Linked DNA regions of Homo sapiens: region 2 is linked to region 1. The links are contacts of gene promoters, found by promoter capture Hi-C in blood cells and fetal thymus (Javierre and others, 2016). All regions are on one chromosome and are shown on one strand. The core of a region is centred on a gene start or on the middle of the fragment in contact, and the rest is flanking DNA. Distances in the headings are between cores, read along the strand shown. Region 1 holds the start of LINC03042 (long intergenic non-protein coding RNA 3042). Region 2 has its middle 120 kb from the start of TACC1.

Region 1 (6,609 bases), core at 2,712-5,211:
AGTTGGAATACTGTTGCCAGAAATTTGCACTAGTTTTAATTAATTTTATCTCTTTAGAGTAAGATATCTCAAAGTCACTGAATAAATTTATGTCACATACGATTATGCACATCAGTATTTTTCTTGAGAACTGACAGCCTTAGTCCTTGTTTTGTTCCCTGATGCTGCAGCAGAGGCCAAATGTGTCCTGATTTCTTGAGTGATGGCTGCCAGCTCTCCAAGTGTCACAGTAGATGAGGCCTCCATGGGGGCAAGCGCCAAGGATGAGTGTGGCCAGGCAGCATCTGCAAGCCCCTTTTGTCTATTCTTTATTTTTGTAATACATTTTATTCTTAAGTTATATATATGTTTATAAGTTTATTAATATATTTAATATAAGTTTATATTTATAAATATATTTATAAATTTATATATTTATAAATATTTATAAATATAAAAATTATATTTATAAATATAAACTTTATAAAGTATAAAGTTTGTATGTATAAGCCTTAAATATGTTTTGACTTATCCATATTTGTAACTTATATGGATAAGGCAAAACATGTATACAAAATATTAATTTTCTTACCCATTTTAACCCCACCCTCTGAAGTAAACATTATAACCAGCTTCACGTGTATCCCTCTACATTTTTTATATACTACACATTTTCCCACTTGTATACATTTTCTTATTTTCTTTTTTACTTATGCAAATATATAAACATACGTATTTACTTATAGGATACCTCTTTTAATTTTTTAATGCAAAATAAGATCATATTCTGTTCCTTGCTCTTTCTTTTCTTTTCTCTCTCTTTCTTTCTTTCTTTTTTTTTTTTGACGGAGTCCCGCTCTGTCGCCCAGGCTGGCATGCTGGTGTGCAGTAGCATGATCTCAGCTCACCGCAAAACCTTCGCCTCCCGGGTTCAAGTGATTCTCCTGCCTCAGCCTCCGGAGTAGCTGGGATTACAGGCATGCGCCACCACACCCGGCTAATTTTGTATTTTTAGTAGAGACAGGGTTTCTCCATATTGGTCAGGCTGGTCTCGGACTCCTGACCTCAGGTGATCCGCCCGCCTCGGCCTCCCAAAGTGCTGGGATTACAGGCGTGAGCCACCGAGCCCGACCTTTCTTTCCTTCCTTTCTTTCTTCCTTCCTTCGTTTCCCTTCCCTTCCCTTCCCTTCCCCTTCCTTCCTTCCTTCCTTTCCCTTCCCTTCCCTTCCCTTCCCCTTCCTTCCTTCCTTCCTTCCTTCCTTCCTTCCTTCCTTCCTTCCTTCCTTCCTTCCTTCCTTCCTTCCCTCTCTCTCTTTCTTTCTCTTTCTTTTCTTTCTCTCTCTTTCTTTTATCTGGCTCTGTCACCTAGGCTGGAGTGTAGTGACGCAATCATAGCTCACTGCAGCCTTGACCTCCTGGGCTCAAGTGATCCTCCTGCCTCTGCAGGGATTATAGGAGTGAGCCACTGTGCCCGGCCTCTTTTCCTTTTTTTAAACCTAATAATCCTGTGCCTCTCTTTGGGTCAATGTAGGTAGATCTAACTCCTTCTTTATAGTTGCTTATCTGCCAGTGTATGGTTGTACCATGATTGATTTATTTAACTGATGTCCTATCAATGGATTTTTCAGGTCCTTTATAGCTTTCTGCAATTACACATAATGCTGACATAACCACCCTTGCAAATATATTTTTTTATATTCAAGGAAACATTTGGTGATTCTACTCTTTTGGCCCATGTGTCATATATGAAGGACACTTACTATATCAACCCTTAATCTGTCTGTCAGTCTGCCACACGAGAAAGCATCCTTTTTTTTTTTTTTTGAGGCAGAGTCTCAAAAAATCAGGCTAGAGTGCAGTGGCGCGATCTCAGCTCACTGCAACTTCCGCCTCCCAGGTTCAAGCGATTCTCCTGCCTCAGCCTCCTGAGTAGCTTGGATTACAGGTGTGCGCGCCACCACACCTGACTAATTTTTGTATTTTTAGTGCAGACGGGGTTTCACCATGTTGGTCAGGCTGGTCTCGAACTCCTGATCTCAGGTGATCCACCCCCCCCTCAGCCTCCCAAAGTGCTGGGATTACAGGTGTGAGCCACCGCGCTCGGCTGAGAAGGCATCCTTTTACCTCCCTTTCCAGGGCATGTTTTTAGCAGAGCCCTGTTGGGAAAAGCACCAGTTTATGAATGTAGAACCTGGGCCCAAATGTAAGACCACTCCACTCCAGATCTAGTCTGGAGCAGTGATTTCTCTGCCCCTCCCATTCTCCTTGCCTCATGTGCCCTGAGCACCTCAGCCGCCTCCATGGTCAGTGACAAGCTGTAATTGGAGTGAAAGGGCTTTGAAGTTCTGATAAATGAGATAATAAATCTCTGCTCTCCAGGGATGTAGGGCAGTGTCTGTGCCTATTGAATGGCCTCAACAGTGCTGTGTATATAGTAACTACTTAATTATTATGAAATAATTATTATGAAATAAGTGGTTGAAGTGATCCCTTTGAAGTTCAGGTCAACTCTGAGCCATCTGAGAAGAATGAATGGAATGGGTAATTGAAACAGATAATCCCCAAACCTCAACTTACTAGTTAATAGGGTTAGGCTCTTTACCTATTAAACCCTTTGAGATACTCAATTTGAAAACTGCTAAAATAAATCCCCTACTTTCATTTATTTTTTCATTGTTGTGGGGCAGGAGAAATTGAGCTGTGAAATGGCCACCAGGAAGGTGGCAGGATGACGAGTCAGGAGTCCTGTGTGAGACATCCGCAAACATCTCATAAGCAGCTTCTGAATCACACAGCATCAAGGCTGCCAAAGTGCCTGGCCAATCTTGGACCTAGAGACCTAAGAATGGGTCTCCCTGTGGACTCCTCCTGACCTGGGTGGGGCAAGGCTCTTGGAAAATAGGTCAAATGACTCTCAGTCTAGAACCGTCTGGCCAGAGATGCCCCAACTTTGCCTTTTGGGCTATTCATCAAATCCAGCCTTTAGGACGTGACATCAGGGTTTCATTTCATGGGAAGATCTGGGTGCATTTTAGTTAAAAGAAGTGATGTCATCACATCCCTGCTGAAAAAAGGAAAAAGGACCCACTTTGTGCTGACATACCGAGTCCTGGGCAGGGAAGTCTGGACAGACACCTGGGTCCACACCTGGCTTTTCTACCAGCTAGCTCTGTGACTCTGGGACCATTGTGTCAGCTTTCTCTGCCACAGTTCCTCCCTCTGCAAAACGAAGGGCTTGAAATGCAGGATTCTAAGATTGTGGCCATCTCTGACTCTGATAACAACCCCGTGAGCCTGAAGAATTCAGCACTGCTGCTCCATAGGGGGTTTCAGCAGGAAGCGGGCACAGATGGCTTTCTCTGGAACGTGTTCAGAAATGTGGTGTGTGATGTACGGTGTGAATGAAGCGTGGTGCCCTTTAAACACAGCTTCCCCCTGGGAGTGCTCTGAGCTCCTCGGGTTCTCTGGCTCTCATTCACATTCCACTGTCACTCTGGGCACTGGCAGCCCTCACGTGCTTGTGCACTGAGCACACACACACCCCGCCCTGACTGACACACAATTGGTGACTCACAACTGACACAATCATTACACACATGGAATGACTCAGCGGGGACACTCACATGCATGGGCTCACGCTCACCGTGACGTGTAGAAGTGGCTGTGCTCGTGGCATCAGGCACCCCCACAGCAGCCTTGGTGGAGGCTCTCGCCAGCGGCGTCTGCAAATGATTTGCATTCTTGGCTCTTTGGAACTGCCTGTTCTTTGTCTCTCTGTTCGCTGCTCAACCCTTTCCTTCCCTTCTGTCCCAAACTTGGCTGGTTTTAGTCTCTTGCTCCCAAGCTCCTCAGCCAGCTTCCCGGACTGGCTCAGGCAGTCTCTAAGGCTCCTGCCAACTCCAAGATTGCTTCTAATCAACTCCTCAGCTGGGAGGAGTCCCTTCCCCAGGGGTCTCATTCCCTCCCTGACCTGAGCATCTCTTCCTGTCTTCTTCAGGAAGATCTTCAATATCTGTGCCATTTGAGCCAGCCCCTTTCGCTAGATAAGGAGCACCCAGAGCTAGTCACATGATAGAAAGTGCTGGCGGCTTCTGGAGGGTGGTCTTCAGTGTCTCTGAGGGTGCCCTTTCTCTTTCTGGCAGCCCAGGCAGATAGTAGTGTTGGGGTTCTTGAAAATCATCTTTGGGAGTTGAGCAGAACCAGCTGTTACTGGAGAAGCAGAGAAAAAAGATGCTGCACGTCCCAGCCATAATGGTCTGGGAGGGACCTACCCCAGAGCGGGAACCAGGGTGGGGAAGCAGTGCAGAGGAAAGAGAGGCCTGTGTCCATGGCTGCTGGCTGAGTTCTGATGGGAAGATAGGGGAACACGTCCTGGAGCTGCACTTCCTTGCAATTCATCTTCTGCTTTCAGATTTAAGGTTACTTTGCCTAGAATAGCTCCTGTCTTTCCTCTTTTCCTGGGGGAGCCCTCACACAGGAGAGGGAGTGTGGCAGAGTGTGATGTGAAGTCAGGGGTATAGGTGTAGCCTCTGCTAGTAGCTGTGGTCCTGGGCTAGACATTAACCACTGGAGTCTCTGCTTCCTTGGCTGTCAGATGTCCTAATACCACCTTTCTGTATCCTCTGATGTGGTGGCATAGATCAGGTGAGCTAGTAGATGTGACAGTGCTTTGACAAATTAAAAGTGGCACACAAATAAAAGTGAGAATTTGAACAGCAGCGAGGAGATGGTGGAGGGGCTGCCCACAGAATGTCCTGAGGGTCTTTGAGGGAGACCTGTAGATTCCCCTCCTGAATATGGGGTAAAGTCCTTGCTGGAATCCCAAGGCTGGATCAGGACCTCCTTTGACTCCGGCACCAGAGGCCCAGACAAGGACTTGCTAGGCCCCTGCTCTGGACCCAGCTGTCATTAAGCTGAGTGTTTTCCTGGAGAGAGGAGAAGGGGTCCTTCCATGTGGATTTTCCCTAAGTATAGATGCTGGCCCAGCAATGCCAAGAACTGAGACACCCTGTGCCTAGCTCTTGGCTGGCTGCTTATAGCTTGAAATGCCCTTTTCAACTCTGAAACTTTTAGAGTCTGGCAATCCTTGAGAGCGTTTTTTTCCTCCTGCTTGGGTGAGAGCTTTATCTTTGACCTCATTCTATCCATCTGAAGAACTAGAATCCAGAGGGAATGACCTTGCTTTGGCAGACCCGAGTCTTCGTCTCTCTGCCTCAAGTCCTTGCCCTGTGAATATCCTCAGCTCTCCCTGCAACTTCAAATCTGGAAAAGGCGCCAGGTGCAGTGGCTCACGCCTGTAATCTCAGCACTTTGGGAGGCTGAGGATGGTGGATCACCTGAGGTCAGGAGTTCGAGACCAGCCTGACCAACAGTGAAACCCCTGTCTCTACTAAAAATACAAAAATTAGCCCAGCGTGGTGGCGCGTGCCTGTAATCCCAGCTACTCAGGAAGCTGAGGCAGTAGAATCATTTGAACCCAGGAGGCAGAGGTGCAGTGAGCCAAGATCGCACCATGCACTTCAGCCTGGGCAACAGAGCGAGACTCTGTCTCAAAAAAAAAAAAAAAAAAAAATCTGGAAAAGGCTTCTTCAGCAAACAGACTTATAAAAATTTCCAGTTAGCCCTTTCCTTACAATTGGTCTGCTGTTTTTGGATTTAAGGTTACTTTGCCAATGTGTCTGGCCTTAACTGTCAGTTAAATATTTAACACACATAGCATGTACTATGCATCAGACACGGTTCTAAGCATTTTTCTACAATATTAATTAATTTTTACAAAACCTTTTATGGGGTAGGCATTCTTATCCCCATTTTGCTGCATAGGACTCCAAGGACAGAGGTTAAATAACATGCCTAAAGTGGGGCAGATTAGCCTACAGTGGCGGGCGTGGAATTCAACCCAGGCCACCTGCCTGGGGAAATTAGCCTGTGACCCCAGCTTTCTTCTGCCCACTGGTGGGTGGTGATTCCAACAGCAACATATGCTTCTGATGGTTTTCTGGAGAGCAGCAGGAATTCCTGATCAACTGGCAAGAAGGAGAAATGAAGCAAAGCCAGAGCTGTGCCCGATACCTTTGTTCAGGCTCAGGTCCACTCCAGCACACGTGCCTGTGTTCTCATCCCCCAGGTTGGTCTCTTCCTTGGCTCCTCCAACAGCCACATCTACAAGAGAATAGAGCCACTCTTTCTCTAACTGTCCTCTCCCTTCTTCCCTCTCTGGGGGAGTCCTGTGGAGCCATTGTTCTCCCAACCTCAGCTATTGGGCCTTTCTTGGCAAGGACCTAGTGGCGTCTCTTATTTACCCATTAACAATTAAGCTCCAGGCATTTGACATATAAACACAGAAAACATCAGCATCATTACAGCAAAGATTTCAAAAGCCCTTTGGCAGGGAAGGGCTTGAATATTTACTTAACAAAAGAATTCCTTACTCCGGTTTTAAGAAAGAATTCACAATAGGATTTAACAAGCCAGTTTCTCCAGTAAATTAAAAACATTCTTTTATTCATTCAGAATATGATTTGTGTTTTTAAAAATGTGTCTCACATACAACTTTTCAAGAGAACACTCGCGGCGTTTTCCCTGAGAACTCTGTTCCCACATTATCTTCCAGTGTTTCTCATTTGTTGA
Region 2 (6,893 bases), core at 2,657-5,156, 140 kb after region 1:
CTGAGGTCTACATAATGGCAGATCTATTGGGCAGAGGTCCAGGTTTCTGAAACACAACTCAGAAATGTATGTTAAGATGTTTTGTTTATCACTGATCCTTAGAGAAATGCAAATCAAAACACAGTGAGATACCATCTCACGCCAGTCAGAATGGCGATTATTAAAAAGTCAAGAAACAACAGTTGCTGGTGAGGCTGTAGAGAGATAGGAACGCTTTTACACCATTGGTGGGAATGTAAATCAACCATTGTGGAAGACGGTGTGGCTATTCCTCAAAGACCTAGAACCTGAAATACCATTTGACCCAGCAATCTCATTACTAGGATATACCCAAAGGAATATAAATCATTCTGTTATAAAGATACATGCACGTGTATGTTCATTGCAGCACTATTCACAATAGCAAAGACATGGAATCAACCCAAACGCCCATCGATCATAGATTGGATAAAGAAAATGTGGTACACCTACACCATGGAATACTATGCAGCCATAAAAGGAATGAAATCATGTCCTTTGCAGGGACATGGATGGAGTTGGAAGCCATTATCCTCAGCAAACTGATACAGGAACAGAAAACCAAACACCACATGTTCTCACTTACATGTGGGAGCGGAACAATGTGAACACATAGACAAAAGGAGGGGAACAACACACACTGGGGCCTGTCAGGGTTGTTGAGGGGAGGGAGAGCATCAGGAAAAATAGCTAATGCATGTGGGGCTTAAAACCTAGGTGATGGGTTCATAAGTGCAGCAAATCACCATGGTACATGTTTACCTGTGTAACAAACATGCACATCCTGCACATGTACCCCAGAACGTAAAATAAAATTAAATTTAAAAAAAAGAAAAAAAGATGTTATGTTTAGTTTCTACAGGGGAACCAAATATCCTACAATTCTAGCTTCATTGCTATTGTTTTAGGCTACTATTACCTTCTTGCTTAGCATACTGCTCATTTACTTCTCAGGACTAGTTCGGTGTCTGGAATTTTCCTTGAAGAAACTTAAGACTTTCTTTTATTTCCATGCTTGGGGGTGGTGGAGGCATGCAGGCCACTAAGAGTGGGGGTCCCTGCTGTCTCAATAGGAGACCAGCCCTCAGAGAGTTCATTGGGGCTCAGCACAGTGTGGGCTCTGGCAGATCCTGGAGCTCCATCCTTCCTGAGCCCATGCTCACTGCTCTCATTATGTCCTGATATTCAGAGTCATTACAGAAAAGGCTCACGGACCACCCCACGAACCACACACATTTAAAATATTTTATTTTATTTTATTTCTTTGAGACAGGGTGTCACTCTGCTGCCCAGGCTGGAGTGTAATGGCACTATCTCAGCTCGCTGCAGCCTTTACCTCTTGGGCTCACCCAATCCTCCCACCTCAGCCTCCCAAGTAGCTGGGATTACAGGTGCTTGTCACCATGCCCGGATAATTTTTAGTATTTTTGGTAGAGACAGAGTTTCCTCTATGTTGCCCAGGCTGGTCTTGAGCTTAAGTGATCCGCCCAACTTGGCCTCTCGAAGTGCTGGGATTACAGGCATGAGCTACCACGTCCAAAACATTTTAAGTCTTAATCTCAGCCTTATAATGAGACAGGGATAGTTGTCGCCCATTTAGAGATGAGAGAAGTAAGGCAGACAAAGGGGGTTGAGTCAGAATTAAACCCCTCTTCTTTGGACTCCGAACCCAGAATTCTTTCTGCTAAATCACTCTCGCTGGACTTCCTGCTCCAGTTGACTCATTTGCCTCAAGCTGCTTTGGACTTGGTGTGCTTTAATTTCCAAGAGTATTTCAAATTTCCTTCTTTTCCTCTACCAGTAATCTTAACACTGGCGGGATTGCTAATAACAGCAATGGAATGAATAGCAGGGCCCACTAGGGGAGATTACTGAGAAGAAGGTCGCCCCTAAAATTATGCTACAAAAGCAAGTTACTTTGAGTCACTCCAACCCTGAAGGAGAGAAAATTATGTCAAAAACCTGTCAGCCCTGAGGTGGTTTTTAGCTCCTATGATGGTTTTACGTGAAAAGGTTTGACTCTTACTTTTAATTGGCCTTTGCAGCCATAGCACAAAATCAGCTAAAAAGTTAAATGAGCAAGAATGTGAAAGTAAGAAAGAAGATAAACTTTAAAGAAACACCTGGCCAGGTGTGATGGCTCATGCCTGCAATCCTAGCACTTTGGGAGGCCAAGGCAGGAGGATTGCTTGAGGTCAGGAGTTGGAGACCAGCCTGGACAACATAGCAAGACCCTATCTCTACAAAAAAATTTTAAAAATAAAGCTTATCAGGGCATGATGGCACATGCCTATTATCCCAGTTACTCAGGAGGCTGAAGTGGGAGGATCGCTTGAGCCCAGAGTTTGAGGCCGCGGTGAACTATGATTGCACCACTGAAAAAAAACGGACACGTATATCATTACCAGTTACAAAGGAAATGTAGAAACTGTAGGGGTCCAAAATCCCAGCCTGGAGATTCTTTCCAGAGGTTCTACATGTTGGAGCGTCTGTGGGTAAATACGTGACAAGACTCTCTGCCCCAGGGCTGGGTAGGATTCCTGGAAATGAGGTACACCGCAGGACTGCTGAAGCAGTGGGGTCAGCTGGGACCTTGTGCTCTCAGCCAGCAGAACTTGAGAAGGATTGGAGGGAAATACTGCGCAGCCCATCCTGGCTGAATACTTTCCTCTCCTGGAGGCTTTCGGAGCTAGGCTCCCGTTAGCAGGAGAGTATGAACCACCAACAAGGGGCTGTGAGGTTTGCCACCGTATAATGAGTTTGGGTGGAGCACTTTGGCCACCTGAGGAAGCAGGGTTTGGAAACTGGTGTTCTGTTTGCCAGCCCTCCTCAAATACAGCCATTGTGCTGGAGAACCAAATGAAAGCCCTGGTAGTGCTAGCTTCAAGGACCACACTGCTTCTTTGACAGAGCCAAGCCCTGCACCCCTGTGGCTTGGATGAGTTCCCTTTGACCACCAAGGAAGAGGAGGAAGAGGAGTGCGCAGTCCTCGTGCAGCAGGTTCCTAGCATCTGACAAAAGTCTTGGATCTGGGGTGGAGAACTAGACAGACACTGGAAACAGAATCTTTTTCTTTTTTTAAAAAAGAGCATCTTGTACCAAGTTGTTCCAAGTTCACAAAAATCTCCCAAGCTCCCAACATGGAGTGACTGTTAGAGGAGTTTGTTGTACATGATTCAGAGACACATGGATTAAATTTCTCTTAAAATATACATCAATTTGAAAATTAAAGGGGAAAGCGTCTGAGACGAGACATGTTTGGATTTCTGTCAAACTCAGGGCCTTTGGAAAGCAGCTCAGAAGCCAGGATGTGGCTTCTCAGGGCTCTGCCTGTCCTCTGCCTCTTTCCTTTGTGTGTTCCATGCTCAGGTCATCCTCCAGCTCTGCAGGGCTGCACTGGCTTTGGCTGTGTCAAATCCTGGAGCTAAGAACCAATTTTATGTTAATTTCTTGGCTTGGGGTTCCCTTCTGATGCAGTTAGTAGATATTTGGACTCTAAACTTGGGCCAAGCACATGGCTGGGGTTTTGATTTTTCACAGGGGTCTGTTCTTCCCCCCAGCTGGAGCCAGGGTAGAGATGAGCTTCCTTAATATCTTTCTGGATTGATGGTTGGCTTTTCTCAGAGCATCTGGGTTTTATGTAGGGGACTCAGTTCCAACCAGTCACTTTATCCAGGCATGAGGCCTCATCTCCTGTCCCTGCATGGGTGTTAAAAGCCAAGCCTTTGGCCATAACTGGACCTGATTGTCTCCCCACGACCACTGTTTTCAGCTCTCAGCTTCCTCTTCACTTCAGCATCTGGGGACTTCCTTTTCTACCTTACAAGCTCATCCATGCGTTATTTGTTAACTTATTTAATTTTATTTTCAAAAATTGTGTTAAGATACACATAACATAAAATGTACCATCTTGGCCAGGCATCATAGCTCACGCCTGTAATCCCAGTACTTTGGGAGGTCGAGGAGGGCAGAATGCTTAAGCCCAGGATTTTGAGACCAGCCTGGCAACATAGTGAGACCCCATCTCTACAAAAAAATTAAAAATTAGCTGGGCTTGGTGGCATACGTCTGTAGTCCCAGCTACTTGTGGGGCTGAGGTGGGAGGATCACTTGAATCTGGGAGGTCAAGACTGCAGTGAGCTGTGATCACACCACTGCACTTTAGCCTGGGTGACAGAGTGAGCCCCTGTCTCAAAAAAAAAAGTACCATCTTAGCCATTTTAAAATGTACAGTTCAGTGGCATTAGGTGCATTCGTGCGGTTGTGCAGCCATCACCACCATCGAGCCACAGAACTCTTCTCATCCGGCAAAACTGAAACTCTGTACCATTAAATGATAACTCCCTATTTCCCCTCCCCTAGCCCCTGGCTTTCAGTCTCTGTGGATTTGAGTGCTCTTGATACCCAGTCTCATTCAGTATTTGCCCTTTTGTGATTGGCTTATTTCACTCAGCAAAATGTCTTCTCCATGTTACAGCACATGTTAGAATTTCCTTCCTTTTTAAGACTGAATAATGGTTCATTTCATATACATAAATACCACATTTTGTACATTCATTCTTCTGTTGATGAACACTTGGGTTCATTAACTTTTTGGCTATTTCAAATAATGCTGTTCTACAACATGGTATACAAATATCTCTTTGAATCCCTGCTTTCAATCCTTTTGGGTATATACCCAGAAGTAGAATTGCTGGATCATATAGTAATTCTATTTTTAATTTTTTGAAGAACTGCCATGCTGTTTTCCATAGCAGCTGCACTATTTTACATTCCTACCAAATGTGTACAAGGGTTCCAATTTTCAATTTCTCCACATCCTCACCAACACTTATTTTCTGTGGGTTTTTTGTTTTTTTGGGTTTTTTTGGATAGCAATCATTCTAATGGATATGAAGTGGTATCTCACTGTGGTTTTAGTTTGCATTTCTCTAATGACTAGTCTAGTATCTTTTCATGTGCTTATTGGCCATTTGTATATATTCTTTGGAGAAAATGTCTATTCAAGTCCTTTGCCCATTTTTAAATTAGGTTGTTTGTGTTTTGTTGTTGTTGTCCATGCATTTTAAGAGTTTTCTTTTATCTATAAATCATTTCTATGGGTTTATAGTGAGTATTTCCATGCCACCCTTTGGCCATTTTGCTGGCTTTCAGAGTGTCTGCCTTTCTGATGGCTTTCACTGTACCCTCTCCAATATCCCGTTTCGTAGCCAAGAAACTTCTCTGCATCCTTAGCCTTTTCTGGAATGTGTCCTATCTGCTTCCTTGTCATAACAAACTTGGTTTTTCCCTGATGAGACCACTGTCCCTGAAACCCTTTCAGGTGAAGGACCCAACACTCCCCTCCCACCCTTTCAAAGCACACACAGGGGGTCTCAAGTTCAGTCGAAGAGCTTAGCATTTATTAAGATATTAGTCTCCTCCCTACTCCAACTTCTGCCATCCCCTTCCATGCCCAGGCTGTGATCCTATTCATCATCTGAGCCTCAGAGTCACCTGATGGTGTGAACAGAAGCTTCACTCTGGAGATAGATGGATGGGACTTCAAAATTCCATTTCCATGATCACTGTGGTTCCTAATCACTCTGCACTTTAATCTCCTTGCCTACAAAAAAAAAAAAAAGGATAAGAAAACTTATCTTAAGAGGTGGTTATAAAATTTAAATGAGATAATGCATTTTGGATGCCCAGCCAGTTGTTAGCACAGGATAAGTGCTTATGATGTTTATTTCCATTTCACTTCACTTCCACTCCACTTTCAACAAGCAGAAAGCTACAAGTGGTACTTTATTCTCACTCAGAGCGACTCTCCTGTGTGATGTGGAACCCTGGAGCTCTCCTTTGTGGCCCTATCTTCCTAACTGCTGTATTGGTTTCCTGTGGTTGACGTAACAATTTTCCACTGGCTTGGTGGCTTAAAATGACAGAAACGTATGCTCTCATAGTCCTGGAGACAAGAAATCTAGAATCAGCATCACTGAGCTGAGATCATGGTGTTGAGAGGGCTTGCGCCTCACTCCCTCTGGAGGCGGCAGGGGAGGATCTTGTGTCTTCCAACTTCCAGTGGCTGCTGGCCTTGCTTGGCTGGAGGCTGCAGCACTCCAATCTCCACCTCTGTGGTTACTTTGCCTTTTCTTCTTCTGGTGTCAAATCTTTCTCTACAAGGACACCTATGATTGCATTTAGGACCCAAATGGGTAATCCAAAATAATCTCCTCATTTCAAGATCTTTCACCACATCTGCAAAGTCCTTCTTTAGCTAAATAAGATGACATTAATAGGGCCCAGGGACGAGGATGTGGATGTGTTTTGGGGGGCCATTGTTCAGCCTACCACACCGTTCTTCTTCCCACTCCCTGCCTGCTAAATCTGCTTCTCAACTGCGTGACGTTGTTCAGTCCCCCCTTACTTCCTGTATTTAGAGTTATCATTGGTCCCCTACCTTCATTCCCCTCCTCCCCACACACCCCTCCCTCACGACGACACCCCCTTGCTTGTCATCTCCACCACACTCCCCAGAACCTTCCATGCCCTCATTCCTTTGGCCTTCAGCCATGTTAGTCCTTCTAATCCACCCAAGAACACAGACACTTTTAGGTGGGAACTCTCCCAATTCCTTTCCCTTTCCTCTAAAGTAATAAACATATTTCCTCCCCCCTGCTCTTTTGTCTCCCTCCTTCTCTTTATCCATATCTTTCTCTACTTTTGGGTATAGGTTGTGTTGAATGGGATGGGGGCTGGGGGCTGGAATGAGTGGAAGAGAAGGAGGGGTCTGAACACAGACCTGATGGGAAGGGGGGCTCTGGGACATCTGGGAATGTGAAGGTTTCTCTTGGTTCAGCCAACATGGCCATCAGCCCAGCCAGAGTCAGAGC

What was found. Contacts are between HindIII fragments. The CHiCAGO score rates a contact against its expected background, and 5 or more counts as called.
Region 2: a fragment that was not itself captured here is called in contact with the fragment with the promoter of LINC03042 in region 1 in 1 of 17 cell types (M0 macrophages); the score reaches 5.7 in M0 macrophages.

What each region holds. Positions count from the first base shown.
Region 1 is chr8:38,524,701-38,531,309 of GRCh38, forward strand. LINC03042 (long intergenic non-protein coding RNA 3042) reads right to left here and starts at 3,962. Exons shown (of 3, transcript NR_167676.1): 1 at 3,623-3,962. RefSeq lists enhancers at 2,705-3,672, 2,929-4,128, 3,511-3,805, 3,567-3,616, 3,673-4,640 and 3 more and a silencer at 6,511-6,609. The HindIII fragment of the contact is 18,415 bases long and covers 1-6,609 here.
Region 2 is chr8:38,668,552-38,675,444 of GRCh38, forward strand. No RefSeq gene overlaps it. Among named protein-coding and RNA genes, the nearest start is that of TACC1, 120 kb to the right of the region's middle. The HindIII fragment of the contact is 3,250 bases long and covers 2,282-5,531 here.